Linked DNA regions of Homo sapiens: region 1 is linked to region 2. The links are contacts of gene promoters, found by promoter capture Hi-C in blood cells and fetal thymus (Javierre and others, 2016). All regions are on one chromosome and are shown on one strand. Each heading gives the region's core, a stretch centred on a gene start or on the middle of the fragment in contact. The rest is flanking DNA. Distances are from core to core; before and after follow the strand shown. Region 1 has its middle 60 kb from the start of KCTD3. Region 2 holds the start of PTPN14 (protein tyrosine phosphatase non-receptor type 14).

The links. Contacts are between HindIII fragments. The CHiCAGO score rates a contact against its expected background, and 5 or more counts as called.
Region 1: a fragment that was not itself captured here is called in contact with the fragment with the promoter of PTPN14 in region 2 in 1 of 17 cell types (naive CD8 T cells); the score reaches 5.3 in naive CD8 T cells.

What each region holds. Positions count from the first base shown.
Region 1 is chr1:215,504,524-215,510,998 of GRCh38, forward strand. No RefSeq gene overlaps it. Among named protein-coding and RNA genes, the nearest start is that of KCTD3, 60 kb to the right of the region's middle. The HindIII fragment of the contact is 255 bases long and covers 3,737-3,991 here.
Region 2 is chr1:214,549,391-214,555,178 of GRCh38, forward strand. PTPN14 (protein tyrosine phosphatase non-receptor type 14) reads right to left here and starts at 2,212. Exons shown (of 19, transcript NM_005401.5): 1 at 1,793-2,212. RefSeq lists enhancers at 875-1,696, 1,697-2,517, 2,518-3,338. The HindIII fragment of the contact is 5,292 bases long and covers 170-5,461 here.

The DNA of each region.
Region 1 (6,475 bases), core at 2,614-5,113, 960 kb after region 2:
TCAAAAATTGTAACAGAAGTATTACTGGAAAGAAAAACATGGTGCCATTATCTAAAATTTTCAAGAAATGAAGGAAAATTCCAAAATAATTCAATAAATGTATAAAATAAGAATTGGGAATGTTTGGTGTCATCTACTGGCATAAGCTTCAAAAGAGCTGGACATTTTTAAAGAAATAGTAATATTTATTCACCTCCCTGCCTCATGGCATAAGTGGCTAGGGAGACAAGGCAGGTCTTGCCTGGAGCAAATCTCAATGGATCCCTACAAAAATGGTGTCAAGACCAACATGGTGTTGCAAACCATGACAAAGTAGATCATGTCACCATTGCTTAAATGGCTTTCCAGCACAATCATTAGCAGTACCTCTGACTTTGTCACCAATAAAAGGTCACAAATATTTTTTTGTTTCACATTACATTTGTTGTAGAAACTTTGAAATTTCATTTATGCTAATCACAATTTCAAATGTACAGTAGTTATTAGATACATCTCTAGATATTGTTGAAAAATTCCATGTATTACTGTATCACAAATTTGATTTTCTAGTATTTTAATAATTGTGTTTTAATATAATTGGCTTCCTCTAGAATATTATATATGTTATTTTATGGCCTTAAAAACATCACTTTGAGGAGTTTCATCATACTGTCAAACTGAGCCATCGCACAAAAAATGATTAATAACCACTGATTATGCTTGGGACATAATTGTAAACAAGACATTCAAGCTTCCATTTGAAAGGATACAGACAAAGGTGACTTTTAAACATTTAAACAGACAAACAATTACAAAATAAAATACAAAATTACAGAAATAAATACAGGATGAAGATAAAGACTGGGGAGGAGAAATTAAATTACCTATGGTGATCAAAGAAGGTGTATCTGGAAAAATAACTTTTAATCTAACATCTAACTATGGAAATCTAAGATGTAAGGAGCTAGCCAAAGGGATAGTGGGGGAAGAGTGTCTGAAACAGAAGAAGGAGCAAGTGAAAAGGTGTGGAAGAGACCAAGGAGTGCTAAAATCTAATTTATAATGGTTGCAAACAATATCCTTCTCTTTGATTCCCCCCTTCCTATACATTTCTCCCTCTGGAAATTTGCTACATTCAAAACAACCCATAATATAAAATTAGGAGATTGAAGCATTTGGAGCAAAAAGATTAGGATTCATTTAGTTATAGCTTGCAGGCCAAAGCTGATTCACTATCTGTTTTTGTATGGCCCACGTGCCAAGAATTTTTTTTTTTTTTACATTTGTATTTGACTGGAAAAAAATTAGAAAGAAGAATATTTTGTGACATCTGATAATTATAAAACACTCAAATTTCAGTGTTAATAAATAAAGTTTTATTTCAAAGAACAAACCATAATAGTCTCTCTGTGAGGATGACTTTCTACCTCTCCTACTAAATAACTTATTTAAGATTCAGTTAAAATGTTTTATCCTCTCCCAAACCTTCATTTATATTCCTGGGAATTTGATTATTTCTCCACTATGCCCCTATTAGTAGTATATATTTTTTACCTTTGTTTGTTAGCATTTTTATTATTATATTTTTATTTTTTGAATTTTATTTTAATTACTAGTTTACTTGTTGTGATGGTTTATTTTACATGTCAATTTGACGGAGAAACTTAGATAGTTGGTAAAACATTATTTCTGGATGCAACTATGAGAGTGTTTCTGGAAGAGATCACCTTCACCAATGTGATGGGTACCATCAAATCTCTTGACAGTCTGAATAAAACAAAAAGGCAGAGGAAGGGTGAATTTTCCTTCGTTTAAGGAAAATTCCATATCTGTCATTGGACATGGCATTCATGGTTCTTGGACCTTCAGACTCGGGCTATGACTTATGCCATTGATTCCACTGACTCTCAGGCCTTCTGACTCAGACTGAATTATGCCACTGGTTTTCCTGGTTCTCCAGCTTGCAGATGGCAGTTTGTGGAACTTCTCAGCCTCCATAATCACATGAGCCAATTCCTATTTGTGCATAATCGTAAGAGTTTTAGCTTCTAAAAAGTTGAAAACCCTTAGGTGTGGACGAAAAGATATTTGAGACAGAAGTCAAACAAATGGTCTATATAATGGAGTTCAGAATTTGAGCCTGAGATGAGCCCTTAAGATGACTGTATTTTTCTATTCAATCAGACAGTATTTATTGAACACCTATTTTCTGTACAGCTCTATGTCAGGCACTGTAAGGAATATAGAGATAAATGATATAGTCACTATAGGATAAGGCATAAAGGTACAGAACTATATGAAAGGAAAGCAATTGATTACCACAACAATAAAGAACAGATTGCTGCCAAATAAGGTTATAAGACACGGCATCTAAGTTAATGATAAACCAGAAAGATATTATTAAAAATGGACCTTTCAAGCACATGGACAGCATGAGCAAAGGCATGGAAGCAGAAAAGGATGGTGTTCATTCATTAATTCATTCATTTATTCACCAACAAGTTATAAGACAGATACAGTATGAGGTACTGTGGACACAGAGATGAACAAAGCACAGTCTCTGTAAAGGACTTCATCATCAATTGAGAAAATACAAGGAAACAAATAAATGTTACAAATTTTTAAAGACATGATGAAAAGAAGAATAGTAAGGGCAGTAGGTGGGAATATTTGATTAATTCTGAGACACACTTAAAGAGAAGTTTCAAAGAAGACCTTACAGGGAAAGTGTGCTGATCAGTGGGCAGTGGACTGTGGTAAAGAAAAGGAAATTATCCCTTATCACAGGAATAAGAAGAATGCGGTTTATTTTTCCAGAGAACATCTGCTAATTCTTAGTGGTTGAGATTATAAAACCACAAAAGAGTATCTGCTAATTCTTGATGGCTTGAGACTATAAAACCACACAAACATAGGGGTCTGACTTGGTAGAAATTAAAATAAGACTCCCTGTGTAAAGCTGGTGTGCTCAAAGGTATTCCAGACTCAGTGAAAGATTCAGGTAAAATGCATTCCAAAGAAGATGATTTACTGATCTCTAATTTGGCTCCGGGTGCACTGGGAGAAAAGGCAATCTTTCTGTAGCATCATAAGCCATTAGTTGGCGCTTATGTACCAAATTTTATTAGTGTGGACTAAAAAACTGCAAATCAAAAGTCTATTCTGTAGTAGATTCAGTTTGATAATCCTCCCAGGTTATTAGATCATTAAAATTCCAATATATAAAGATAGAACAAACAGATTACAATTTGGAAATTCACTAAACACCTGAGAAACAAGGCACCATGAGCAAGAATCTGCAGAAATTCAAAATGCAGGGTCAGACAAACAAATATCATAGTAGAATTATCAAATATAGAATATAAAGTAAATATATTTGATAAATTAAAGAAAGAAAAAAGATTTTGAATATGATTAAATTTAAAAGGATATTAAAATTAACCAAGCAAATATCAAAAAGAGTACTTCTATAAATAAATAATACTGTAATTGAAAATACTCAAAATTCAATGCATATGTTAAATAGAAGACTAAACAAAGCCAAAGAGAAAATTAATAAACTGGAAAATAAATCTGAAGATATTACCAAAAAATGCAGCATAGGGAGATAAAATAATACATGAAAAAGAGATTGAGGGAAATGAAGCCTAGAGGAAGAAAAGCCAATGTAAATCTAATCAGTGCTCTGAGCAGAAGAAAAGAATAAGGGAAAGGCAATATATGAAGAAGGAATGTCTGTGGTTATTGTCAGAATAAAAGCTTCAGCATTTAGATTTAGGCACCTGGATGAATTCAAGCAGAGTAAATAAAAAGAAACTTTTAAATAAGTTATCTGTATTAAAAATGCAGAAAATCAAAGACAGAGAAAATCTTAAAAGTAGTAGAAAGAAAAGATAAATTCTGAGGCCTGCCATGTACATTTGTGCAAGCTGTACGCTACCAGAGATGGTACTAGTCATTTATGGTCTATGTGAATGGTGTCCTTGGGAATTGAGCAATGCTATTTCTGAGAAGCTTTGTGCAGCATCCCAGTGGCTAAAAAAAAGTGATGAATAGCTTGACAGCTGACAGCTGACTTTCCATTGGCAGCAATGAAAGCCGGATATATATATAAAAAATAGTATATTCAAATGCTAAGATAAAGTAACTTTCAACGTAGAAATTTATATTCATAGAAACTGTGTTCCAATAACATTTCAAATGAAGACATTTTCAAAAAGTAAGTAAATAAAAACTGAGAAAAAGTACTGAAAAAAAAATGCTTCCAAAAGAATCTTCAAGGATAAAAGAGTGAAGGAAAATGATCCTAGAAGTAAGGTCAAACATTCCATGAATAATATGAGTAGAAAAAGAAAAGGAAAAAGAAGTGTTAAACTTATGTAAGCTTAACAAGTTGACTATATAAAACAGTTACCAAAATGTTTAATATGCAAGACAAAAATTATAGACAAGGAGAGTACAAATTTAGAGAAGTACATTTTGGTGTACAAAGATCTAAGGTCTTTTTATTAATTGAAAGGATGGTTAAAATATTAATTAACTTTAGAACTTGTTAACTACATTAGTAGGGTAAATACTACAAGAACAGAAATAGAAAAGTGTAACAACCAAATTAGTAAAACAAATTAAAATAAGGAAAAAAAGAATTTTAACATAGGGGAAGGGACTCTGAGATATAAAAATAACCAAAGTGTTTTTCCTACTATCACTCACCACTCAGCATAGCTGTCCTGACACAAGATATTGGAAGGGGGTTCACAACACACCAAGCAATTCCCTGGCAGACACCAGCTGGGTGCCTTCCAATCAATTCAATTCTGACACTGTCTACCTGGAGGTATCATCAGATCACATAGGGTAAGGCTGAGTTTCACAAGGCTGCTCCCTACTTCCAATCACAAGTCTCAGGTTGTGACTTGTACTTCTGACTGACCAGCTATAAATTGGAGTTCCCATAACTCTCTCCTCAGGTTTGATTAATTTGCTACAGTGGCTCACATAACTGAGGGAAACACTTTACTTTTATTTACCAGTTTATTAACAAAGACTATAACAAAGAATAGAGATGAACAACCAGATGAAGAGATACATAAGGCAAGGTCTGGAAGGGTCCCGAGTACAGGAGCTTGTGTCTTCATGGAGTTAGGACACACCACTCTTCCACCCCATGAATGTGTTTCCCAACCTGAATGCTCCCTAAACTTCAGAGTTTAGGGATTTATTGAAGGCTTCATCACATAGGCATGATTGATACTTAATTTTATTTCCAGGCCTCCCCCGTCTCCAGAGAATGGGGTTTGAGGCAGAAAGCTCCAAGCTTATAATCATGGCTGGATCTTTCCAGTGACCAGCCCGCATCCAGGAGCTCACCAAAGTCACCTCATTAGACCAAAAGATACTCCTATCACATATCACACAGAAAATTCCAGAAATTTAGGAGCTTGCATCAGATGTTCCTATTACTCATGCACACATGTTTATTGCAGCACTATTCACAATAGCAAAGACTTGGAACCAACACTAATGTCCAACAATGATAGACTGGATTAAGAAAATGTGGCACATACATGCCATGGAATACTAGGCAGCCATAAAAAAGGATGAGATCATGTCCTTGCAGGTACATGGATGAAGCTGGAAACCATCATTCTCAGCAAACTATCACAAGAACAGAAAACCAAACACTGCATGTTCTCACTCATAAGTGGGAGTTGTACAGGAGAACACATGGACACAGGGTGGGAAACATCACACACTGGGGCCTGTCAGGGGGTGGGGGGCTAGGAAAGGGATAGCATTAGGAGAAATACCTAATGTAGGTGACAGGTTGATGAGTGCAGCAAACCACCATGGCACGTGTATACCTATATAACAAAACTGCACGTCTGCACATGTACCCTAGAACTTAAAATATATATATAAAAAAAAGACAAGCAAAAAGATTCAACCTGCTCATAATTGGAGTTCCCAAGGAAGAGAAAACCCAAACAATAAAGCAAAAAATAAATTTCAAAAAAGTTCAAATAGTATTTCATAAATACCCCACTTAGAGAAGAGATATAAAAGAGTGGAGGCAGCCAGTAAACATATACATCACCCAAGGACCTCCACTAACAACAACAGCCTAAGCCACTGAGGAACTCACAGAGACCACTGATGCTGACTACAGCTGAATAAATTATACGAAGACTATACTACTGTGCCCACCCAGAAATCAAAGCAAAAATACTCTACCCAACCAACACTGTAGGTAGACCTATAGGAAAAAGTCTTCCTTTAAGGGAGCCAATCCATATAATTAAAAGAAATGATTGCTATACTAGATGTACAGATACCAACATAAGAATCCAAGAAATATGAGAAAGCAAAGAAACATAACACTTCCAAAAGAACACAATAATTCTGCAGCAACAGATACTAAAGAAAAGGAAATCCATAATCTTCCCTAAACAGAATTCAAAATAATGATATTAAAGAAATGCTATGAGACACAGAA
Region 2 (5,788 bases), core at 962-3,461:
CAACTGTGCTAAAGCAATAGTAATGACTTAAAAGCAGAGAAAAGTATAACAAACTTAGTGACATACAGATGAACGAATTTTGCACCTCATGGCCACCCATTCAGACTGGGCAAAAAGGGCATCATGCCATTCAGCTCCCGCTCATTAAGGCTGTCATTTCTATGGCACAAGCTTCAACCTCATCACCAAACAATTAGCTAACTTTATAATACAAGGTCCGTAATGCTGCGGTATTACCACACCTACGGCTGTCAAACAGCCTTTTTAAAAAAGGAATCATTGCTTGAATGTGGGGGACAAAAAAGAAGAATCAATACCATTTTAATGAAACCGAGCATGGGCCAATTAAAATGTAGATGATCATACAACAGCTGCTTGTGGTAAAACAGCAGCAGGCATGGAGGTGTATCCAATTAGGGAGGCCTTGGCTCCTCGGTAAGCTACTTGTGGTTCCCATAAGTGGCTAACGTGCTTCTAGATTTATTTCTGATATTGGGGGTGGAGAGAATGCTATCCCAGCAACACTGCACCAACATGGCCATAAATGCCCCTCAGGCCCCCAGATGGCTAGGGAAACTTTCTGTCCTTCTTGTGTTCACTCTGCACGAGCTGTTTCCTCTGCCTGGAATACACCCTCCAGAGGAGCACAACCTCTATCCTCTAAGTGTAGTGCACCCTTCACCAGGACCAAGCTCGCCTCAGACTCTCACAGAACCCCTCTTCCATGTATTATCATTCTTCACCGGCCTTCAAGTTTCCTCCACTAGGCTGCAGACTCCTGCCCTGTGATCTCATTTAGCATCTTTCTATCCTGTTCCTAGCAGAGTAGAAGCTGGGTTTGTTGGATGAATGAGTAAACTAATCCATTTCAAGAAGTTAACACATTGGTGGAAACTCTGTAACTGCCCGCACCTGCAGTCTAGAGATTCCTCACCTTCACAAAGAACCTGCGACAGCCAGTCCCTAGACTTAAGCGGAAACCCCACAATTTCTGAAATTGTAGGTGGGGATGAGAAGGTTGGAGAACAAGAACCCAAGGAAGTGAGAGGGAAAGGGAGATAGGGGCAGCGTTACCTCACTGCTCTCTCCAAACGAAAAGGTGTAAACCCCATTTACAAGTATTCAAACCTGAGATCTGGGGGTCACGTGGGGAAGGAGAGGCTGTTAATACCTACAACTTTGGAAGTTTGAGGTGAAGACCTGATCTGAAATTGTTTGGCCACAGCTTTTTTTCTACGAGCCAGCTCGACCACCCAAGTAGGAGCCTCGACGCCCAGGAGTTCGGTGGCACCACTGGGGCCTAGTGAGAGGGCAGGAAAACTCCGCTCCCCTCAAGATTCCTTCCCGGTGGTGGTGGGGTGTGATTGGGAGCGTCGGGCAGCTGCATCCCCCTACCGCTGCAGCGACCGCGACGTCGTTCGTCTTTCATCCTCTAGCCCCCAAGGTCTAGGTATCTCTAGTTGCCCTTCCGAGGCCCTCTCTCGTTCCCAAAACGCAGAAGGGAATGGAGAGAGGGGACCAGGGTGTGGGTTTAACCACAAACTCCCCAGACTGCGCTCACCTTCCAGCTCGCTCCCGGGACCAGCTTTGCGCCTCACCGCGGGCAGCTCCCACCGCGAGATAACACCCCTGCGGCCCGGCCACCCCGCGCCCCAGGCTGCCCTGCCAGGCGTCCCGGGGCGCCAATCGCAAGTTGGCGTTGCCAGCGTCTGCCCAAGTCATCTGCAGGGCGCCCGGAGCGCCAAGGCGGCCTCCAACCTCGGGCCCAACTCCCGGCTTGGACGGGGCTTACCTGCTTACATGGCCCCCGTGGCGCCCCGGAGTCCCGCGCGGAAAGGCTGTCCTTCGCGGCGGCGGAGCCGATTCCCCACGGAATTGATTCCAGTGACTGGCGGAGGAGGGGCGAAGGGAAGGAGCCGCAGGAGGCGAAAGGGGAGGGAGGTTTCCGCCGCGATCCCGGCGCGAGAGTCCGAGCAGAGGCGCACCGGGGGAGAAAAGGAGAAAAACCTAAGCACGGGGCTGTCCCGCCCGAGGAGGCCGGGGAGGATGGCTCAGCTGGGAGGGGAAGGAGCGCCAGTGGCCACTTGATGTCTGTCTAGGGCTCCCCGAGGACCTGAGCCAGGAGAGCAGGCGGCTGAGCCCGGAGAAGCACAGCAACCTGCCCCCGAGTCTGCGCCCGCTGCGCTCACTCCGCCGAGAAAAAGTTGGAAAGAACTTTGAGGGGCCGGGAGAGCCAGAGCGGCAGGAAATGCGAGCGGCCGGGAGAGGAGGGAGGAAGGGGCCGTGCGAGTGGGAGGGGACGGAGCAGGCGCCGGCGGCCACGGCTCCCCCACCCCAGAGCCGGGCTCCGCGGCCCTGGGGGCCGGGAGGCGGAGGGAGCGCTGGGCGCGCGGCCGGGGGCGGGGAGGAATGCGGCCCGGGAGGGCGCGCGCCGGGGGCGCCGCGGGCGCGCGCTGAAACGTGGAGCCCCAGCTCCCGAGCTCCCGAGCTGGAGGCGCGCCGTCCTTGGGGACGTCACAGCGCTGGAATCCGAGGAATGCCGGGCTGCAGGAGCTCCTTCTGCAGGCCCGGAGAAGTCGCACACTTTTAATGGGGTAGTTTTGGAAAATGTTTTAAAAGGTGGGGGCCGAGGACGGAGGACCGGATGAAACTCCCTGGAGTAAGAGACGTGGAAGTGGAGAGAGCAAGGCGACCGCAGCCACCCCAACCCTGGGCTGCTCCCGCCGTTGGGGAGAAAGAGGCAAGGCAAGGAAGAGCCCACCTAGACTTCCGAGGACCGCAGAGACGGGGCGGCGGCAGGAACTTGCTCACCCCGACCTACATTCAGAATAGTCCACCTTATATTGGGGAACCCTCCAAGCAGGACGTTTCATGCAGCCACCCCACAGGGGAAAACAGACCAGGAGAAAGTAAGGTGGCCTCACCAAGTAGGCAATCTCAGAGATCTCTCCCTAGAATCTCTGGGTACTGGACCCGGTGTCTTAGCCTTCTCTCCCTGCCCCCTCCCGCCCCGTAGGAATGATAAAAAGCAGCCTGTGTGCTGAGAGTTGGAAAATGTCGTTTTCCCGGTTTGTTCCATGCCACAGAATCGCCCCACCCTGCCTGGGTAGGCACTGGGAGGGAACTTCCTTAGCACTTTCGGAGGTGGAGTTAATGAGACGCAGCTGGTATGATGGAAAAAGCTCGGAGCCAGGCGACTGAACCTGGGTTTTAGGCCCTGCCCGATTGGATAACTGAGGAGTATCCCAGCCCCTGAGATCCTAGGTTTCTGTAGCTGCAAAATTAAATAATTTGTCTAGATTTCTGTGGTCCTTTGCATTGCTACAAACATGTCTTGGGATTTATCTCGGTAAGATTCCAGTCCTTTGTTGAAAAGGGACCTTGAAGTCGTTGGCACACAATGTATTGTCCCAAATCACTTCAGTGTCCGGCAACTCATGCAAAAATTCCTGGCCTCTTGGGGAAGAGAATTGGAAACCAAAAAGCGCGGTGGCTCACACCTGTAATCCCAGCACTTTGGGAAGCCAAAGCTGGGGGATTGGCTGAGCTCAGAAGTTCGACACCAGCCCGGGCAACACGGTGAAACCCCGTCTCTACTAAAATTCAAAAAATGTTTCGGGGGTGGCGGCGTGCGCCTGTAGTCCCAGCTACTCTGGGGCTGAGGCAGGTTAATTGCTTGAACTTGGGAGGCGGAGGTTGCAGTGAGCCGAGATCGCGCCACTGCACTCCAGCCTGGGCTACACGGCCAGACTCCTCTCAAAAAAATAAAATAAAATAAAATAAAATAAAATAAATAAATCCGTAGTGACTCTGATTTTCTTCGAGCATCTGCCAATCTCTAGAACTGTAAATTAGAGAAAACGCCGAGTGCAATGCAAAAGTGATGGAAAGAAAAGGTTGAAGGGAAATCAACTTTCTCACATTTTAAAGGAAATAGCTGTACAGACGTGCTGGGTTTCCAAAGAAAACATTAGGCAGTGCCTGACTGTGTTCCAGAAAGTGTGGAAAGCACTCCCCCATTCCTAGATGAGGAAAGTGAGGCATGAAGAAATTACCTGTCTCACTGAGGGTCATACAACTAGGAAGATATGATCAGGGCCCTAGTCTGTCAGGCCTAAAGTGCATGCTCTTCATCTCTTTGAAATTGGACCCAAACAGGATTAGGATTAAAGATAAGAAAATGCCTTCAGGATCTCAATGTAAAACTCTGGCCTTTGCTCTTTCCTGGGAGATGGGAGACCTCTTGCTTGGTGTCTTTTCTAGTGAAAAGACACTAGGAAATATATTGTGTTGCTCTAACATCACTGTGCTACCAAACTGAGCACAGCACCCTGAGGCTGTTGTGGCATAAAAGAAGCAGCAAAGGACTTGTTGTCCTTCTTGGGCAGACACAAGGGTTCCGGTTCTGCCTCTGACCAGCCTTGGGACCCTGATCAAGGCACTTCACCTCTAGGCCTGAATTTATTTTCTAAGTAGAGTGTGGCAAAGAGGGCAGAGCTTGGTTGGAATAGTTCATCTCTGAGGTCTTTCCCAGGACTAAACTTCCATCAAAGTACTCTTCTCCAGATAGATGGCATGCCTGTGGAGGAAGCTAAGCAATAAAGCCAGTGGATAAAGCCAGTGTCTGGGGACAGGACTGTTTTCACACCGCCTTCAGATGAAAATGAATGTTGAGACTCCAATGAATGTGGCTGAGTGTTCAATGATAAGTAAAGCTAAGATTTAGCACTAACCCTGTGGACACATTTTAAAAATTTAGATAATTTTACTTACAGGAAGACAGTCTGGGCAACATGGCGAAACCCCAACTCTACACAAAATACAAAAATTAGTCAGGTATGGTAGCTCGAGGCTTGTAGTCCCAGCTACTAGAGAGGCTGAGGTGGGAGGATTGCATGAGCCTGAGAGACCGAGGCTGCAATGAGCTGAGATCACACCACTGCACTCCAGCCTGGGTGACAGAGTGAGATCCTCTCTTGAAAAAGAAAAAAAATATGCGTTATTAACTTAAAAGCCTATAGAGTGTATCTGACTAGCCATATTTCTTTTTCTTTAGAATAGATCACAGAAAGGCAATACAAATAAGAATATTTTCTAAGGCCGGGCGCGGTGGCTCACACCTATAATCCCAGCACTTTGGGAGGCCGAGGCGGGTGGATCACGAGGTCAGGAGATCGAGACCACAGTGAAACCCCTTCTCTACTAAAAATACAAAATTAGCCAGGCGTGGTGGTGGGCGCCTGCAGTCCCATCTACTTGGGAGGCTGAGGCAGGAGAATGGCGTGAACCCAGGAGGTGGAGCTTGCAGTGACCCGAGATCGCGCCATGGCACTCCAGCCTGGGCGACAGAGCAAGGCTTCGTCTCAAAAAAAAAAAAAAAGAATATTTTCTAAATAGAAAGTACAGCTTGAAGTGACAAAAACCTTTCATTCTCAGGATAAATATATAAAAGCTAGTTTCAAGCTTCTTTCAAAAAGAAAAAAGAAACCCATTTCCTAAATCTTTGTCACACTCAAGTCTCCTTATACTACATCAGGGTGAAAAGGAATTCGACTCATGGAATAGGTCCTGAACACATCACTACATGTTTGCTTTAAAGCTTTGCAATTGTAAGAACTTATCAATATTACATTTCTCAAAGCAATTACCAGATTCTTATAAGCCCAATTCAAACTACAAATACAAAGAAGAATCCCGTGGGCTTCCACAATTCCTCCCAGCCCCAATGTGTTCCTCTCATTAATGCATTCATTTTACACCTTCAAAGATGCTGAAGCCACTGAAAGCA